3 separate regions of the Homo sapiens genome follow, and all the other regions are linked to region 3. Evidence: promoter capture Hi-C in 16 types of primary human blood cells and fetal thymus (Javierre and others, 2016). All regions are on one chromosome and are shown on one strand. Each heading gives the region's core, a stretch centred on a gene start or on the middle of the fragment in contact. The rest is flanking DNA. Distances are from core to core; before and after follow the strand shown.

Region 1 (2,984 bases), core at 183-2,682, 530 kb before region 3:
CTCACTGGCCTTACATGTAGGCTACAGGCTAAATTTGTTGGCCCATAGGCTGCAGTGCTGACCCTTGCTGCGAAATATTTCTAGGAGAAAATACTCAAGACCTAAATCTATGGAGATATATATCATCCCTGTGGCCTGGAAAAGTTAATATTGGCAAGTTGTCCATCTTGGCCAGGACCCTGAAAGATAGTCTATGTTATTGTAAGAAAGATTGGTGTCCTTGGGGGCATGGGCTTTTAAGCCAGGGTGGAATCTGCAGAAGTCTGAGGTGCCATTTCCTGTCCCTATACCTGGGAGAAAATAGCTCTCAGACAGCTGTGTGGCTTTCTGCAAAGCTCAATTAGAAGAGAAATTATCAGGCGTGGTGGCGCATGCCTGCAGTCTCAGCTACTTGGGAAGCTGAGGTGGGAGGATCTCTTGAGCCCAGGAGTTCGAGGTTGCAGTGAGCTGTGACTCCAGCCTGTGTGACAGAGTGATACGCTGTCTGGAGAAATTCATCATGGAGATATGCTGATAATTGGTGGTCCCTGCCTACATCCTCCCAGGAGACTGAGCCAGACCCGGTGTGGCCAATGGTCCACTTATAAATTGAACCATGTTAGACCTCCTAACAGTGCAAGTACTCATTACAGCTCTGACATGGTGCTAAGCACCCCAAGTATTATAAACAAGTGTAATCCATTATGCACACACGGTGAGGCTACACCAAAGTCTGGTGGTTAAATGCATGATCTGTGGAATCAGACAGCATGGGTTCAAACCCTGGCTGGGGTGAGATGGGGAACTTTCTAAGGCTTAAATGCTGTTTTACCAAATATTTTAAAAGAAGTGAAAATACACTGCCTGTTAGAAAGGGAAGTTTTGGGGTGAAGCATGTGGGCAGTTTAGAATACCTGGTGTCCACCTCAGAAACCATCACAGCCCAGATGTTATAGGTTCAGGCCTTTCCAGGGCGGGCACATAGAATGTCCTCGCCTCCAAGGTTTGGAGAGCTGCGCTATAAAGGTTCTTGCAGGCGGTGTCCTGAGCCCAGAGCTGCCTGCAGGCGGGCAGGAGTTGTGGGGGTGTTGGCATGATCTGGTGTCCTCTGTGGCGGCTGCCTGAAAAGAAGAGGCCGAGGGTTCTTTGTCCTATGTCTCTCCGAATCTTAATACCTGCCCTGCAGCAGACTCCCTGGCTGCCAGGGCACACCGGTCACCCCGGTAGACGGTGCCGCCCCGCCCTCGCCAACCCCTTATCCCAACTCCCATTTCCAGCCTTCCAGGAAGCCCGATCCCCACCCCCGCACCATGTGAGCTGCTCCTCTACTCCGCGTAGGGGAGGCTCTGCCTCCGGTGACCCCGAGGGAAAGAGCTAGAGCACCCACAGGTGCTGACTGCTGCGGCGCTGAGGACGCTGCACACCCGTTCACCGGCTGACCCAGTGCTGCTGACAACCAGCGTCCGCGGCCCCCAACCGTCGAACAGAGCGCGTGGGACCATCTGGTGCCAAACGCCTGCAACGGAGTGCAGAAGGTCACGAGGCGCTAGAGACCGGTTGGGGGCAGGCGGTTGGGCCTTGACGCTCTTTGCTGGGCGTCGTTTTTTCTTCTCGCCCCCTTCGCTCCTGTGCGCTTAGTGCACAAGCCCTGGGCTCACACACCCTTTCTCTGTCACGTGTTCCAACAGCATCTCACCTGCATCGGGCTGAACAGGAGACCTCAATTTTCTCCTCTACTCCAAGGATTCGCCGGCTCACAATTGCTCTTCATATCTTCAGCAAGCTTTGTCTGTGCCCTGCCCCTCTGTCCCCCATTGCCTACCATACCCGCTCCCACCAAGCCTGCATCACCTCGCTGTCTCTGTGCCTCTCCCCGGCCCCCTTCCAGGCCTTTCTCCCACAATTTCTGGTCTTTGCTCCTGGGTGTTCCGTCGACCCTAAGAGGCGGTGTCTGATCTGGCAGGCTCAATGCCTTTCTCTGGCGCTGTCTGCACCTCCAATATATTCAGTGACTCAGGAAGGATCCATCCTGCAGGGCCCAGATAGACTCTCCTGTTTGCCACCTGAGCAGAAAGGCACCTCTGTGAGGTCTTTGCCACCCAGTCACCCTACCAGACCCAATCAGCACGTGGGAGACGTGGATGACAGGAGGACAGAGATGGAGAGGGACCAAAAGACTACATGGGGCCTTGAAGGATGTCATAAGAACGTTGCCTTTTACTGAGAGATGGGAACCATGGAGGGTTTCAAACTGCTGAGACTGGCATGATATGACTTAGGGCTTTTTTGTTTGTTTGTTTGTTTGTTTTTTCTTTTTTGTGACGGAGTCTCAGAGTCTTCCTCTGTCATCCAGGCTGGAGTGCAGTGGTGTGATCTTGGTTCACTAGAACCTCTGTCTCCCGGGTTCAAGACATTCTCCTGCCTCAGCCTCCCGAGTAGCTGGGATTACAGGCACCCACCACCACGCCCGGCTAATTTTTGTCTTTTTAGATGTTTTATCTCAGAGAAAGAGCTTCCATGTTCTCTAACTCTTGTAAACAGGTATTCTTCAAGAAACTTTACAATATAACATTCATACACAGAAGTGTACAAATCATCTGTCTATTCCTCAATACATTTTTGCAGAATGAACAAACCTATGTAATCTAGATCAAGAAGCAAAACACAGGCACCTCAGAATCAACCTCATGCTCATTCCTAGTCACTATGCCCCTCCCAAATTTTTAACATTATAGATTAGTTTTGCCTATTTAAAAACTTTATATAAATGGAACCCTACCATGTGTCCTGTTTGTGGCTGTGTCTTTTCATTCAACACTTCATAAAATTCATCCATGTTGTTGCTTTTAGCAGCACTTTATTCTTTTATATTGCTGTGTGATGTTCCATTGAACAAATATAATTTACCCATTCTATTATTGATGGATGTTTGGCTATTAGAAATAATAATGCTACTGTGGCTAGGTGTAGTGGCTCATGCCTGTAATCCTAGCAGTTTGGGAGAC
Region 2 (3,075 bases), core at 97-2,596, 640 kb after region 3:
GTATTTTTGATAGATACATACACCTGCCAGGCAGGATTCACAGTGGTTTGTGATTCTCCCCTGACTCCAAGACTCCAAGCCTAATCCCCGCCCCTGACCAGCTTCTCCTCTCTGAAGGGGAATGGACCCCCCAGCTGGTTGCCGGCCCAAGTGTGCAGAGCCGCGGTTGCGCGCTGGGTGGAGGGGTCCCCCAAGCTCCGGTGCTGGTGGGGCCCGAGGATGCTGTGTCCTTGCGGGCCTCCCTAGCGCTACGAGGACACCTCCAGGCGGCCCGCGGGGACAACAACGGCATTGCGGCCTACCACCTAAAGCTCCTGGGAGGACAACGGGGTTGCAGTCTAGTCGACTGTTCAGGGTGTCCCGGACTCCGGGCTTTAACAGTCGGTAAGGACCCAAACACCGCTGTCCACTGCCCCGACTCCCACCCGCAGAGGGCGCGACCAACCCAGCTCCTAGAGCCACACGCTGCCTCTGGGGGCTTGGCGCCCACACTCTCTCTGCTTGTCTTCCCCTGGCCCGAGAAGCCTGTCCAACCGGCCGAGAGCCATTTCCCTACGGGGTCTCGTCCCTCTGCACGTGCCCAGGGCTGGGACCCCAGACACAGACCTGCCCCGGACGAGGGAACGCACGGAGCTTCCCAAGATGGTTTGAATCAGTAACTGACGGCAAAAGCACGCTTGTGCCCGGCGTCTCTCCCAGTGCCCCGTGCCCTTGGGACCCAAAGTCCGAACCGGTAGCCGGGCGCGGTGGCTCACGCCTGGAATCCCAACACTTTGGGAGGCTGAGAATCGTTTGAGCCCAGGAGTTCGAGCCATTCTGGGCAACATAGGGAGACCCATCTCTGCAAATAATAATAATAATAAATAAATAAATAAATAAATAAATAAATAAATAAATAGCGGGCGCGGTTGCGCGCGTCTGTGGTTCCAGCTACTAGGGGAGTTGAGGTGGGAGGATCGCTTGGGCCCAGGAGTTCGAGGCTGCAGTGAGCCAAGATCGCGCCACTGCACTCCAGCCTGGGCGACAGCGAGACCCCGTCACACACAAAAAAACCCCTAGCTTCCTCTTCTCCCAGAATGCAGGAGTTAGGTGAGGACCCTCTGTTCCCTCCAACCCAAGACCTAGGAGTCCGAACACATAACGCCCTCCAGGCGGTGCCAGGATCCCCAGAACTGCTGTCCCCTCAAGAACACACGTCCCCTACGTGGGAGGCCGCGACCAGCGACTCCGCCCACTTCTCCCAGCCGGCTGTTACGTAACTGCAACGACAGCCAGTCAGACGCGGCAGCGCCGGATGGCGGGAGGCGGGAGTTGGAGGCCAAGGGAAGCGCTGGGCGGAAGTGGCTGTGGCTTTGCCCTTTGGCCTTTGCTGGCTGTGTGGCGGCTCCGCGGTTCGCAGGTCGTTCGCTGAGCGTCTCTGCTTAGCCGCGGTCATGAGCCGGCACAGCCGGCTGCAGAGGCAGGTTCTGAGCCTGTACCGCGATCTGCTGCGCGCCGGGCGTGGGAAGCCGGGCGCCGAGGCGCGAGTGCGGGCAGAGTTCCGGCAGCATGCGGGCCTGCCGCGGTCCGACGTGCTGCGCATCGAGTACCTGTACCGCCGCGGGCGGCGCCAGCTGCAGCTGCTACGCTCGGGCCACGCCACCGCCATGGGCGCCTTCGTACGCCCGCGGGCCCCGACCGGGGAGCCTGGCGGCGTGGGTTGCCAGCCTGACGACGGCGACAGTCCAAGGAACCCCCACGACAGCACGGGGGCACCGGAGACCCGCCCCGACGGACGGTGACAGGCGAAGAGCCGAACTCGCTCGATGGCGTGGTGGAGCCAGGAGGCTCGCCTGACTGCATGGGGGGACTGGGGAACCCGCCTAAGGTGAGAGGTCTTAAGAGACTAGCTTGACGAATTGGGGATGTCAGAGACTCCTCCTTGGCGACGCAGGGGGCCTAGAGAGCCCCGTGATGGACGGCAAGGGAGGCCCGCCTTTTCCGATGCTTGGAGACAGGTCGGTGCTCCTCCCCCATGAGGGCTTGGGGCGGCCTGGGACGCTGGCGGGCTGGACAGTGTCAAGCCAAGAGCTACTTGCCCGAAGGTACGGGGAGCCAGGACGACCCCCGGTGGACAGGGAGAGCCTGAGACGCCCTTCTCTTGACCCCTGAGAACATACCCACTTCTGGCTCCTCAAGGAGTCTCCCCTCTCCTGTATTTAACTCTGAGAAGTGCAGACTTTTTGCTGAGAACGTTTTGGGAAGGTGCCCTGATGAGCGGTGAGAAGCCCGGAATCCCCTTCTGGAAAACTTTCCCCCATTAATTGTGACAAGCCAGGACCATGAGGAAGGGGTAGGGGTCTATCACCCTGGTTGATCAACTGAAGACCCCCAAAGGCCCCTACTTGATGGTTTTGAGGGGCAACATTGACTCATTTGCCCCTTCCCTCTCGGAATGTTGGACAAAGGGAATAAAATTGGGGATATGTCTACTTCCCTGTTGGTGGTCTTAAAGCTTTTATATATTTCAGGATTTTTGAAACACCCCCAGCCCCCCTGCCACCACACACACACGCACACAGACACCTGGAAGGGACCATCTGGGAGGTGATAGGTGTGGGGATCTGACTCCTTCCGGAGCCCTGTAGACTGGCACATTGATTGAAGCGGCATAGTTTTCTCCCCTGGGCAGATCTGTGGAGGGGGCTCATCCTGGCTTAACCCCCAAAGATACCCCAGTTGGCTCCCTAATGGAGGGCAAGTGATTTAACATCTTTGTGTGGAAGAGGAAATGGTGGAGCTGAGAACTGGCTCGGAGCCCCTGAGGCAGTAGTGAGGGTCTCAGACCTGGAAATTTCTCAAACCTGGCTGAAGGGTCCAGCCTCAGCTACAGTGAACGACAAGGCCCTGGGGCAGGAGAGGGGAGATGAACCCCATAGATCACAGATATACTCCCTCCGGTGTCCCCATATGGGCCTGCCCTAGACATTCTGTGGAGGGATGCATTTTGCATCGCTGAGCTATATTTGCACCCATATCAGTTAAATAAGTGGAAATGAGTTCTTGTGGATGTAGCTGTGGGTAGGAGGACCACAG
Region 3 (2,866 bases), core at 262-2,761:
GTAGTTCGAGACCAGCCTGGCCAACATGGCGAAACCTCATCTCTACTAAACATACAAAAATTAGCCAGGCGTGGTGGCGGGCACCTGTAATCCTAGCTACTTAGGAAGCTGAGGCATGAGAATTTCTTGAACCCGGGAGGCAGAGTTTGCAGTGAGCCAAGATTGCACCATTGCACTCCAGCCTGGGCGACAACAAGACCCTGTCTCAAAAAAAAAAAAAAAAAAAAAAAAACAACTTAATCTTCATTTCTACCTCCATCCCCCAGACAACCACGAGTCTACTTTCTGACTCTATAACTTTGCCTATTCTGGACATATCATATAAATAAATGAAATCTGACAATATATGTACATGGTCTTTTACGTCTGGCTTGTTTCACTCAACATAAGGCTGTAGTGTGTATGGGTAGCTCATTCCTTTTCTTTGCCAAATAGAATTCCAGTATATGGATGTGCCACTTTTTTATTCACTCACCAGCTGATGGGCTGCCAGGTAACATTTCCACTGTTGGTGACTATGACCAACACTGCTGTGAACATTTAGGACTGAGTCTTTAAGTAGACCTGAGTTTCCACTTCTCTTAAGTAAATACCTACGGTGGAATTGTTGGATCGCATGGTGAATTTATGTTTAACTTTTTAAGCAACTGCCACCTGCTTTCCAAAGCAGGGACACCACCTCCCATTATTCTCACCAGCAGTGAATGAGGCCCCTATCTCTCTACATTCTCGCCGACCATAGGCATTGTCTGACTTTTTGCTTGTGGCCATTCTAGTGGATGTGAAATCATATCTCATTGTGCCCTGTGATTGTTTGAATGAACTAATAGATCACCTGTGAAACTGGACAGCACTTGGGTTTGAACCCTAGTGGTGACATTTCACAAGCTGTATCACCTGGAGCAAGTCACTTCCCTACGGTGAAGGACAAGGATTTTATGACATAAAAGCGTTGCCCTAGAAGCAGTGTCTGCTATGGATTATGTGCCCATGAAAAGGCAGCTGCTGTCATCATCGCCACCACCATTATTATTGTTATTATTATTACATTGTCACCCCAGAGATAATCCTGCACCAGTGACAGGGAAAATAGCAGCTGGCATCCGCTGCCTGCTCACGACCACACGCCAGGCTTCCGTCAAACCACTCAACATGTATTAGTAATCTTTTAATCGACCTACATATTGTTTTAATTTGCATGTGTTAATGCGTTGATCTATGAGATGGGTATTATGATGAGCTCTGTTCTGCAGGGGAGAAAGCAGAAACATGGAGAATTTAAGTCATTTCCCCCAAATCACAAAGTCAGGAAGAAACAGACCTCACGGAGCTCGCTCTCTGTCATTGCATCACACTTCCTGCCCTTACAAGGCAAATTGGATAAATGCCATTCTAGAGAAGCAGACAAAATTCAAGTGAAGAAGGGGAGAGGAAGACGTCGGCTGGGGCCTGCTTAGAGCATCCCAGCTGAGACTGCATGAGGAGGGAGGCACGCAGTTGTGGAATTTGTTCCCCTTTTAGCATGCTGACCAGCCCTGGCAACGGAGCTCAAGGCATCTATGTGCCACTGCTCAACAGTGAGTGACGTCATGGGCACGGCCAGGTCTTTATCAGTTCTGCCGGATAAATAGCCAACTGCACTAGGTCTGGAGAGACAGCAAGGTGCTGTGCGGCAGAGCATTTGGGGTCTCAAAGAAGCAGGTGAGCCTGGGCCCGAGGGGCTGGGTGGAGGAGCACCTTGGTGCTTCTCTGCTGGGGAAGGGACAGGGGACAGGGCATGCTCAGGAAGACAGGCAGGCTGACCCCGCCTGGAAGGCACCCAGAGACAAGAGGGGTGGGCGTAGTGACCTCGTGCCCTTTTAGGGGAGATGCTGCTGGCCAGAGGCCGTTAGGGCCCCCACTACCAACTCCATGTTACTCTCTCTCACCAGTGGCCACCACCATGGATACAGGCCCCGACCAGTCCTACTTCTCCGGCAATCACTGGTTCGTCTTCTCGGTGTACCTTCTCACTTTCCTGGTGGGGCTCCCCCTCAACCTGCTGGCCCTGGTGGTCTTCGTGGGCAAGCTGCAGCGCCGCCCGGTGGCCGTGGACGTGCTCCTGCTCAACCTGACCGCCTCGGACCTGCTCCTGCTGCTGTTCCTGCCTTTCCGCATGGTGGAGGCAGCCAATGGCATGCACTGGCCCCTGCCCTTCATCCTCTGCCCACTCTCTGGATTCATCTTCTTCACCACCATCTATCTCACCGCCCTCTTCCTGGCAGCTGTGAGCATTGAACGCTTCCTGAGTGTGGCCCACCCACTGTGGTACAAGACCCGGCCGAGGCTGGGGCAGGCAGGTCTGGTGAGTGTGGCCTGCTGGCTGTTGGCCTCTGCTCACTGCAGCGTGGTCTACGTCATAGAATTCTCAGGGGACATCTCCCACAGCCAGGGCACCAATGGGACCTGCTACCTGGAGTTCCGGAAGGACCAGCTAGCCATCCTCCTGCCCGTGCGGCTGGAGATGGCTGTGGTCCTCTTTGTGGTCCCGCTGATCATCACCAGCTACTGCTACAGCCGCCTGGTGTGGATCCTCGGCAGAGGGGGCAGCCACCGCCGGCAGAGGAGGGTGGCGGGGCTGTTGGCGGCCACGCTGCTCAACTTCCTTGTCTGCTTTGGGCCCTACAACGTGTCCCATGTCGTGGGCTATATCTGCGGTGAAAGCCCGGCGTGGAGGATCTACGTGACGCTTCTCAGCACCCTGAACTCCTGTGTCGACCCCTTTGTCTACTACTTCTCCTCCTCCGGGTTCCAAGCCGACTTTCATGAGCTGCTGAGGAGGTTGTGTGGGCTCTGGGGCCAGTGGCAGCAGGAGAGCAGCATGGAG

What was found. Contacts are between HindIII fragments. The CHiCAGO score rates a contact against its expected background, and 5 or more counts as called.
Region 1: the fragment with the promoter of LINC01801 here is called in contact with the fragment with the promoter of FFAR3 in region 3 in 5 of 17 cell types (non-activated CD4 T cells, fetal thymus, total CD4 T cells and 2 more); the score reaches 7.7 in non-activated CD4 T cells.
Region 2: a contact is called between the fragment with the promoter of SDHAF1 here and the fragment with the promoter of FFAR3 in region 3, in 5 of 17 cell types (neutrophils, M0 macrophages, monocytes and 2 more). The highest score is 10.9, in neutrophils.

What each region holds. Positions count from the first base shown.
Region 1 is chr19:34,831,437-34,834,420 of GRCh38, forward strand. It overlaps LINC01801 (long intergenic non-protein coding RNA 1801), which reads right to left and starts at 1,433. Exons shown (of 6, transcript NR_033982.1): 1 at 1,289-1,433; 2 at 894-1,100. The HindIII fragment of the contact is 2,823 bases long and covers 1-1,760 here.
Region 2 is chr19:35,993,842-35,996,916 of GRCh38, forward strand. SDHAF1 (succinate dehydrogenase complex assembly factor 1) reads left to right here and starts at 1,347. Exons shown (of 1, transcript NM_001042631.3): 1 at 1,347-2,471. The coding sequence starts at 1,434. The coding sequence ends at 1,781. RefSeq lists enhancers at 310-809, 1,144-1,193, 1,454-1,533 and silencers at 1,594-1,653, 1,684-1,803. The HindIII fragment of the contact is 4,511 bases long and covers 1-2,492 here.
Region 3 is chr19:35,356,949-35,359,814 of GRCh38, forward strand. FFAR3 (free fatty acid receptor 3) reads left to right here and starts at 1,512. Exons shown (of 2, transcript NM_005304.5): 1 at 1,512-1,701; 2 at 1,932-2,866. The coding sequence starts at 1,943. RefSeq lists an enhancer at 2,833-2,866. The HindIII fragment of the contact is 8,969 bases long and covers 1-2,866 here.